Linked DNA regions of Homo sapiens: region 1 is linked to region 2. Evidence: promoter capture Hi-C in human tissues and cell types (Jung and others, 2019). All regions are on one chromosome and are shown on one strand. Each heading gives the region's core, a stretch centred on a gene start or on the middle of the fragment in contact. The rest is flanking DNA. Distances are from core to core; before and after follow the strand shown. Region 1 has its middle 55 kb from the start of DPY19L2. Region 2 holds the start of XPOT (exportin for tRNA).

What was found. Contacts are between HindIII fragments. The study calls those that stand out against the background at their distance.
Region 1: a contact is called between a fragment that was not itself captured here and the fragment with the promoter of XPOT in region 2, in 1 of the 25 tissues and cell types used here (dorsolateral prefrontal cortex).

Annotation. Positions count from the first base shown.
Region 1 is chr12:63,721,047-63,726,024 of GRCh38, forward strand. It overlaps the pseudogene LOC100418730. Among named protein-coding and RNA genes, the nearest start is that of DPY19L2, 55 kb to the left of the region's middle. The HindIII fragment of the contact is 3,249 bases long and covers 785-4,033 here.
Region 2 is chr12:64,401,457-64,406,934 of GRCh38, forward strand. It overlaps XPOT (exportin for tRNA), which reads left to right and starts at 2,936. Exons shown (of 25, transcript NM_007235.6): 1 at 2,936-3,348. RefSeq lists enhancers at 2,511-2,560, 3,658-4,534 and silencers at 2,951-3,110, 3,441-3,550. The HindIII fragment of the contact is 11,570 bases long and covers 1-4,935 here.

The DNA.
Region 1 (4,978 bases), core at 1,159-3,658, 680 kb before region 2:
CTTGGGTGAATGTCTTAACCACTCTGACCTCAGTTTCTAATTCTACAAAATGGGACTCGTGGGGCCTTCTTCAAGGCATACAGTGTCAGAATTAAATGAGGTGTTTAGAAAAAAATGTGGAAAGATTTTTCTAAATTAAAAGTAATAAATCCAAACCATGAATTTTAGCTGGATCCTAGTTCAGAGGGGGTTTAGGGGCAGTTGGTCTATCCTGAAAATTTTAATATAAACTGAATATTAGGTGATATAAAGAACAAATTCTTATAAATTTTCTTAGCTGTGATAAAGATGTTGGGATTATAAAAATAATGTTCTAATTGTCAGAATAGGCTTACAGAGTGTTTAGAAGTCTCAGGAAGCATGCAACTTAGTTTCAAAAGGGGAGGGAAGAAAATGGGAAGGAAGAGGGGAAGTATGTTTGCATATAGAGAGGAAGAGGAAGGAAAGAGAAAATTTGGGGGAAAAGCAAATTTGGCATTGCTGAATCTGGGTGGAAGGCATGTGAGGTTCATTTTACTATTTGTTTCATTTTTTGTATATCTGAAATTTGTTCTAAATAAAAAATCGAGTAGAAAAACAAGAATTAAATTAGAAAATGTCATTAAAGATGTGGTTCCAGTTGGATACAGCGAGTACTAGCAGATATTCTGACCTCCTGTTTAGGATGATCATCATCGTGTTACACTTGCTGATGTGTGGTGTGAGCAGCACATTTGTTTAAAAAAAAATGAGCATAAAGAGTTGATGCTCTCTAAAATTGATGTCTCAGAGTCTATCAGGGCCAAGAGCTGAGAGAGGGTGAAGTTCTGCTTCTTTGGGAACAGCAGGCACTCACAGCTTAGGGGTTAAGGGCACTCCCTCTTGAATCTTAACCACCTGAATTCAAATCTGCAATGGGAGGAGCAAGGTCACTTCAGATGACTTATTTAACTAGTGCCTCAATTACCCCAACTGTACGATGCTGAATAAAAATACAATTGTTCCTATCTCACGATATCATTGAGAAGATCAAGTGTGATTATGAATTCAAGTGGTGTCTTGCACATAGTAAGTACCCAAATGTTAGCTGTTATTCGTATTATGTAAATAAGACCGTCCTATGATATGAGAGGTCCCGCCAACACTTACGCAGTCTTGCTCTCTCACCTATTAAACCAAATCTCAGGCATTATACTTTAAAGTTTACTAGAAACTTTAATTTTTGTTCATCTCTATAATTTTCACTAAAAAAAATAAAGAGGAAAACAATTTACCTCCTCCTGCTTTGGCCCTCTTTAAAAAGAATTATGATAAAAGCAATGAGGTTTCCACATGACAAGTGTCTATGTTATTTCCAAACATCAATAAGGTTTCTTAAGTGAGCATAAATTTAAATTGTTAGAATATATTAGCATGGTGTATATTATAAAAGCTATGAAATCAATTAGTATAAATGAATGGAATGTTTTTGGAATCTTTTTGGAGCCTATGATATTTGCATCCCACGTGCCCTCAAATAAATTAAAAACAGGATTGCTGGTTTCAGTGTTCCAGATTTGCAAAGAAACAGCATTAGCGCTTCAGGCCTTTGTAGGCTTCCATCTAAACCCCAACTTTTAGTTTGGGCATTCTCTGAATGTTTCCACTCCTGTGTTATGATCTTGGAGATAATTCAAAGGTTACAATACTTGCCTTTACTATAAGATCATCAGCATGATAGCAATTATGCATTAATTTCTCTATCTCATTAACTAATACACCACTAAAATTTTAAAATACAAATGGTGACAAATTCTTTTTTTGACATTTCTGAGATAGCCCCATCATAACCACGTCTTATTTACAGAGCACCTTACAGCTTCCAAAGGCTTAAACAAGCCTACACACACAACTACATTTGATCTTCACAGCAATCCCCTAAAATGGTCTGGTCAGTTCTTGGCCCTAATAGCTAGGTAAGGAAAACAGCAGCCACTGGTGAAATGAAATCTACTCAAAGTTGTATAGAAATCCTAGGAGAGTAAGCCTTACATACATCCACTCTGGCCATCTGCCCACATCCCTTTTCCAGGCTTCTACTACCTCATTTCTGTGAGGCTGGCTGTGATGTCAGCTTCATCTTGCCTGTCCCGAGGGTCTCCACACCACCTCGCTTCCAGGTGACCATCCTCCTCTGGACTCTGAGCCATCTACCAGGCAGCATCTAATAGCTACTCACTCAGAACCCAAAACCTAACAACATCAAGACAAGAGGAGAGCAGTAGTCTTGGCTACCTATGACCAATGAAACAAACACAAGATACAAAGACACAGAGAGGTCATAAACAACTGAATGTGTCAAGTAAACGGAGCATGTGACTTCCTTTTATATTGAAGTGTATGAAAAGGAATTCTATTTCTGGTCCTTTCTGATGGAGAGAAGTTACTCACCCTCTCTTAGCTTCAGCTTCCTCACCTATGGAGCGTAGTACTGCCACAGCCCCTTAAGCTTACGCTGGGCACAAAAGAAGAAAATGTATGGGAAATGTCTATCAGTACATAGCCCTTAGTATGGCCTTGATAAATATTTACTAAGTTGGAATAAGCCCTATGGATGAAGAAATGCATTAAGTTTATTTTTTTTAATTTTATTTTTTTGAGGTGGGGTCTCGCTTTGTCGCCCAGGCTGGAATGCAGTGGTGAGATCTCTGCTCACTGCAACCCCTGCCTCCCAGGTTCAAGCGATTCTCCTGCCTCAGCCTCCCGAGTAGCTGGGACTACAGGCATGTGCCACCAGGCCCAGCTAACTTTTGTATTTTTAGTAGAGACAGGGTTTCACCATGTTGGCCAGGCTGGTCTCGAACTCCTGACCTCAGGTGATCCACCCACCCTGGCCTCCCAAAGTGCTGGGATTACAGGCATGAGCCACTGCACCTGGCCAAAAATTTATTAATTTTAAATGTGATGTACAACAGAGAGTAAAAAATGTAGGTTGAGTATCCCTTATCTGAAATGCTTGGAACCAAAAGTATTTTGGATCTCAGATTTTCTCAGATTTGGGAATGTGCATTATACTTACAGGTTAAGCATCCTTAATCCACAAATCTAAAATCTGAAATGCTCCAGTGAGCATTTCCTTTGAGTGTCATGTCAATGCTCAAAAAGTTTCAGATTTTGGAGCATTCAGATTTTGGGTTTTTCGATTAGGGATACTCACCCTGCATATAACTCAATAATATAAATTAGATATCTTGATGTTACATACTATAGTTTACTATCTAAAAAGACATTTAAAATCATTTTACCAGAATTATCTCACCCTAAATTATAGCTGAATAAAACCTCACAAAATATCTAAAGTATCAGCAGTTTGGGCAGTTGGATAGAATAGGTGTGTTTAATTCAGCAGAAAAACTGAACTTTTAAATTTTATGAAGCAACAAGAACATGGTTATACATGTTACCAGGAGGAGGAAAAGGAGGCAAGTAACCTTCTGGAGAAGAAAATGTGAGAAGGCAGATTGGGGTAGGTGTGGGTGGGGAAGTGGGCAGTTAAAAACTTGACCCATAATGTAGAGATTCTAGAAAATACAGTGTAATACACAGTCACTCAACACACTCTTAGAGGTCCTAGCACTGAAACTCAATAGCTCTCTGCAAAGTGAACATCCATTTTGAGTACTGGGATATCACTTCTCTCCAAGAAAATATAAGAACCTCCTAAATCCTTCTCTTATGCAGGAACTAAATTGTGAACTGTACACTCATCAGTTAATTCTGGTAGGCAGTGACTGCCGTAAAAACTGTTTCTGGAAGGATGAAAGTTCTAAATTCTTCAGACTTCAGGTTGAGCAATGAGGCTGTGTGGTCTTTCTTCTTAATGATGTGCACCCTTGGCTGGTACTTATGCATTGAGTTCAAAATGATCTACAACAAAAAGATGGAAAGTACTGAATTTTACATACTTATACTGCTCAACAGGCCAAATTACAATGAGGCAAGAAAGAACCAAATGGTCTACAATTTCAAAGTCAATTTTAAGATATGGATCTACCCTTTCCAGCCTTAAGGCAAATCATTTTCACAAGATACTGCAGAGTCATTGTTGTGAATCACATTTTACCGAAACAACTGCAAACCACACAGGTTGTTTCAAGTGTCCTTTCTAAAATGGTAGGGGGAGAGGTCATCTGAAGGATAAGTTTTACCGATTTTTAAAAATCAAGTATTTTAAATACTTTTGTTTTGCTAGTCTAGTTAGACCAAAGGACGCATGTCTAAATTTTCTAAAATAAGAAATCACATATTCTAAGAGGCCAGATTATTATTTATGGAGAAAAAAATAAAAGAGTTTAGAAAAGCAGTGGGGTGTTAGACAGACTTGGGTAAAAATTTTGAATCTGTGAGTTTCTAGTCCTTTAATCCTTAGCCAAGTGATCTCATCTCCCCAATTCCTAGTTTATGCAAATGAATATGCAAAGCAAAAACAGAATGGCATTTATGGTACTAAATCATGTATAGCTTGGTCATAATGATAAAACTGAAATGATTATTAAAAATTTCTTTTTTTTTTTTTTTTTTTTTGAGATAGTGTCTCACTCTGTCACCCAGGCCGGAGTGCAGTAGTGCAATCACGGCTCACTGCGATCTTGACCGCCCAGGCTCAAGCGATTCTCCCATCTCAGCTTCCTGAGTAGCTGGGACTACAGACATGGATCACCACACCTGGCTAATTTTTTTTTTGTTTTGTTTTGTTTTTGTTTTTTTCGGAGAGATGGGGTCTTACCATGTTGCCAGGCTGGTTTCGAACTCCTAGACTCCAGCGATGCGACCGCTGGGCCTCCCAAAGTGCTGGGATTACAGGTATGGAGCCACTGCACCCAGGCAAGAATTTTAATAATAACCTTTAGGTTAAAGTAAGCCTCAGGTTAATCTCAAGGAAATCAAATTTCCTGGGAAATCAAAAAAAAAAATCTATTTAGATTTTTCTGTCTAACTGGTACTTTCCATGAAGATAGTA
Region 2 (5,478 bases), core at 1,686-4,185:
ATAATACGATAGATTGAATTGCCATATTCTTTAGGATGAGGCCTGGAATATGCTGAACATACAGATTGCAGAGGCACTCAGCCCAAGATTAGTATTGGGCCTTCATACTCCACAGTTGATCATCACAGCTAATATAAGAATTCATGCAATGATTCAGTTATTGAGTTGAAACTAGCAGGCTGGCACTGTGCTAGACTCGAAAGATATACTGAAATAGGTAGGGCAGAAATCCTAGCCTGAGATTTTTTTTCTTAGAAATAACATTCATAGCAACTTGTGAAAAAAGCCATGCCTGTGTCTCCAGCAGCAGTGAAACAAGATGGTGGATCCCCTCACCATTAACCCCCATATGGAAAGGGTATATGTAATTCAGAAGGGATGTGTATTATGTCTGTTCTCACACTGCTATAAAGGAATGCCTGGGACTGGGTAATTTATAAAGGAAAGAGATTTAATTGACTCACAGTACCTCAGGGCTGAGGAGGCCTCAGGAAACTTACAATCATGGCAGAAGGGGAAGCAAACACATCATTCTTCACATGGTGGCAGGGGAGAGAAGAATGAGTGCCCAGCAAAGGGGGAAGCCCCTTATAAAACCATCAGATCTCATGAAAACTCACTATTACGAGAACAGGGTGGGGGAAACCAACCCCATGATTCAATTATCTCCACCTGATCCCGCCCATGACATGAGGGGATTATGGGAATTACAATTCAAGATGAGATTTGGGTGGAGACACAGCCAAACCACGTCAGGATGTGTAGACAACTGAAGTACAATAACATCAAGGCTGTTTTGACGTAAGGGCAGAATTTACAGTATGTGCTCTCACACAACTTGAAATCTTAAAGGCCTTCCGGGAACAGGGTTAATCAGAAACCAACATGGCAGATTAGTACCAAAGATGGAGTTACTTTAGCTTCCAGATTCCACCCATCAATCCAGCTCTTACAGTTTCACTCGCCCTCCTATTTGGAGATGGTCCCTGAGCTTTTAGGGAGGGTGGTTTCATATGATATAGCTTTAGCAGCAGCGCCCTAGCAGTGGAAAACAGATTGGGCCCAGAGAGATTCCAAATGAGGGAGATTCACAGGCTTTGTTGAATTATCTCTAGTCTTGAGAATACCATGACTTTGGTTTTCTCAGAAGTAAAACAAGAGATACTTCTTGTTTATAATTAATTTGAATAATTAATAATTTGAATAGTAGAAACATAATGCATGCAAGGATTACAATCAAAAGAAAATTTGTATGCCAGAACAACAAAGAACCTATTTCGTTGGGAAGCCAACTGAGAGCAGCGTGAAGAAAATTAAGGCCTGACACAGGGACTCACACTCGTAATTCCAACACTTTGGGAAGCTGAGGTGGGAGGTTCATTTGAGCCTGGGAGTTAGAGATCAGCCTGGGCAACAGAGCAAGTCCCCATCTCTACAAAAACAAACAAAAATAGCCAGGTATGATGGTATGCACCCGTAGTCCCAGCTCCTTGGGCGGCTGAGGCAGGAGGATTGCTTGAGCCCAGGAGGTCAAGGCTGCAGTGAGCTATGACCACTCTACTCCAGACTGGGTAACAGAGCGAGACCCTTTCTCTAAAAACAAGAAAAAATTAAAACCCAGTTCTCCTTTAGCGACATCTTGTAGCCACTAGCCTGACATTTTAAACACATAAATTAGAAACATGATGCAAGAGTGATTCAAGGTATTTTATATAGGAAATGCCTGGTGTAGTGTCTTGGACAGCTAAATAAAGGTAGCTGTTAAAACATTAGTTTTATTCTATGCTCTTACCATTCCTCCCTCTCCAAGTTTTGTTTGTAGTCTGTGGCAGCAACCTAGTCTGTATTTAGTACACATTGAATAATCAACAATGAAATGTAAATATTGAGCACATTGTGTGTCAAACACATGTATTAACTCAAACCTCACAGAAACCCTTTGAGGTCGGTACTATTAACAATCCCCATTTTACATACGAGTAAACTGAAGCATGGATAGACTAAAGTAAAGTGCCTGAGGTCAACTAGTGAGGAGGCGGAGTGGCAGTCAAGTCGAGGCAGCCTAAGCCTACACTGCCTCTATGTTGCATTAATAAATTAATAAATCTGTGACCAAATAAATGAAGTGACATTTAGTAGCATCGAAAGATCCCGTGAGTAGGACTTCCTAAGAATGCTCTCCTTCTTTTCATGGACAAAATTTTAGTCTGTTTAAAATAAATTTTGGACCGGACACCGTGGCTCACGCCTGTAATCCCAGTACTTTGGGAGGCCGAGGCAGGTGATCACTTGAGGTCAGGAGTTCGAGATCAGCCTGTCCAACATGGTGCAACCCTGTCTCTACGAAAAATACAAAAATTAGCTGGGTATGGTGGCGCGCGCCTGTCATCCCAGCTACTCAGGAGGCTGATGCAGGAGAACTGCTTGAACCCCGGAGGCGGAGGTTGCAGTGAGCCAAGATCTCGCCATTGCACCCCATCCTGGGCGACAGAGCGAGACTCCGTCTCAAAGAATAAATAAATAAATTAATTAATTAATTTTGAAAACCTGTCAGCACTCATCAGAGCTTTACACTGCTGTACTCGGGACACTTGGGGCCGTAGACAAGCAATTAAATTGACTCACACGTGGTTAGAACCACGTCATCCTGATTCGTGAATCCGTACTCTCAACTACTAGAAGCCCTTTGTGGAATGCTCGGGGCGAACCTGACGCTTGAGCTCTGACACCACGCAGACACAGCCGGGGATTTAGGAGCTGGGTAGGGACTCCTGGGCCGGATGCCTCATCCCGGCATGCACCTCAAGCCCCGGTGACCACGCCTTCCGGCGAGCGCCAGGGAGCGCGTGTGCGCCTCGCCGCCCGGAAGCGCCGGCCGCTCCCTGCATGCTGGGAGTTGTAGGCCTCCGGCGTCAGCCCGCGGGCTGCCGCCCGCACTCTCCAAGAGACTGCTGGCGCCGGCGCCCGCCCGCGCGGCACCGACGCGGGGAGCGCGCTTCGCGCTGACTCAGCGGCGGCGGCGGCTGCGGCGGCGGCGGCGGCGTTAGCCGGCCCTCGCGCTCTTTCCCTTCCTGGGGCGCCGACCCCGCCCGCTTGCTTGCTTGCTTGCTTGCCTGCCTGCCTGCCTGCCCGGCGCCACGCAAGAGAAGGTGCCAGGGGACGCAGAGCGACTAGAGGCGCGCGGTCCCGGCCAGCACCGTCTCTGGCGTTGTAGCTGCGGCCGTGGCGGAGGACTACGGCGACAAGGACGAGGGCCGCTCTCCCAGCTCTCTGCGTGCCGCGCCGCTCCGCTCCGCTGGCTGACCATCTGGAGTGCAGGCTGGGAGGCGGGATGGAGTGATAGGGAAGGTGACTCGGGGCTCGGGGGCAGCGGGACCGGGACCAGGTTTGGTCCGCGTGAGGCTTCGAGGAAGTTGGCCGGGGCGGACCGGCCCGGGGGAGTCCCGACGCCAGGGAGGGTGCAGGCTTGGGACCCTCTATGGCGGTGCACCCCCTGGCTGGGCGGACCGGGTGGGGGTGGGTACGAGCCGGGGCCGCCGCCGAGGAGCGCGTCCCGAGTGCGTGGCCGGCGGTTGCTTGGTGTTTCATCACCCGAATTGCCACGAGGCTTCCTTTAGGGGAGGGATCGGGGGAGGGATGGGAGCAAGGCTAGCAGAGGAGGGTCGGCATCGCCTGTGGTTCCGAAGCCCGTTAGTCATCGTTGTAGCGTTATCAACTGTGGAGACCTCAAACTTGATTCTTCCCCCACCCCTGGACAAAAAGGAAAAGTGTTATTTCTGTGCAGTAATTGGCCAGCACGGACGCTCCATTTCTTCTCAAACCTTCCTCACCATCCTGCAGGACTAGAGAAGCATGAGGTTTCCCTGTAACCAGAAAAACGAGTACTTTTTGAAAGTGCTAATTAGTTGTGGCGGGCGGGGGTTGGGGGAGAGTTACGTTTTATTAAACCGACTTGTCAGCGTGGTGTTAAAAGGCTGGAAAGATTCAGTCGTAGTATTTGAAACAGTCTTCAGTAGGTGTAGAGGAATTTTTCCAAATTGTTTGATTCTTAATGGCTATCCAGGAAAAGTTAAGGCTTAATATTTTAAGTATGTTGCTTGCCTTCCCCCAAGAACCTTTGCAAGATGCATAATTGTTTACCGTATTGAAACATTTTTTGGGGTTTTGTTGTTGTTGTTTTGAGACGGAGTCTCGCTCGGTCGCCCAGGCTGCAGTGCAGTGGTGCCATCTCGGCTCACTGCAACCTCTGCCTCCCAGGTTCAAGTGATTCTGCAGCCTCAGCCTCCCGAGTAGCTCTATTACAGGTGCGCCCCGCCACACCTGGCTACTTTTTGTATTTTTCGTAGAGATGGAGTTTCACCGTGTTAGCCAGGATGGTCTCGATCTCTTGACCTCGCGATCCGCCCGCCTCAGCCTCCCAAAGTGCTGGGATTACAGGCGTGAGCCACCGCGCCCGGCCTTCCACTGCATATTGATCGTCCAAATGCCTTCTATGTGGGGGATTCTTTCTGTAGTGACAACTGTTAACTAGTTTGTTTCCTTGGGTTTATTGGCTATGTTTTCCTTAGGGCCACTTCATTTTTCTCCCGATAGCTTCAGAGTGACTTGACCAAGCTTAAGCACTTTTTCTTTTTTTTGACACAGTGTCTCACTCTGTCGCCCAGGCGGGAGTGCAATGACACGATCTCCGCTCACTGCAACCTCCCCCTCCCGGGTTCATGCGAGTCTTCTGCCTCAGCCTCCTGGGTAGCTGGGATTACAGGCGCAGGCCACCATGCCCAGCTAATTTTTGTATTTTTAGTAGAGACGGCGTTTCACCGTGTTGGTCAGGCTGGTCTCGAACTCCTGACCTCGTGATCCGCCCACCTCGGCCTCCCAAAATGCTGGGATTACAGGCGTGAGCCACCGTGCCCAGCCAGCAATTTTTTTTAGATGGAGTTTCGCTCTCGTTGACCAGGCTGGAGTGCGGTGGCGCCATCTCAGCTCACTGCAACCTCCGCCTCCCGGGTTCAAGCGATTCTCCTGCCTCAGCCTCCCGAATAGCTGGGATTGCAGGCATGTGCCACCACACCCGGCTAATTTTTGTATTTTTAGTAGAGACGGGGTTTCTCCATGTTGGTCAGGCTGGTCTCGAACTCCCGACCTCAGTTGATCTGCGCCCCCCTCCCCTCGGCCTTCCTTAGTGCTGGGATTATAGGCGTGAGCCACCCTGCCTGGCCAGCATTTTTTTAAAAAGCCATAGCAAATTCAAGGAAGCTTTTATTGGACTTCTCAATCAGGGATTCTTAGAAACTCCGAAATCGTTTTTTCTCTCTGTGGGCATTTTTCAGGGGAATGGACATCAGATTTTCTTAACATTTAGGGGGCGAAGGGAACCAGTGCCTTTCTTTGTGTTTTTCTGTCTTTTAAAAATGCTGATCTGGTATAAGAATGCCCCAAGTCGTTTCCATTCCACATGTTCCTACCTCTGACTATAAA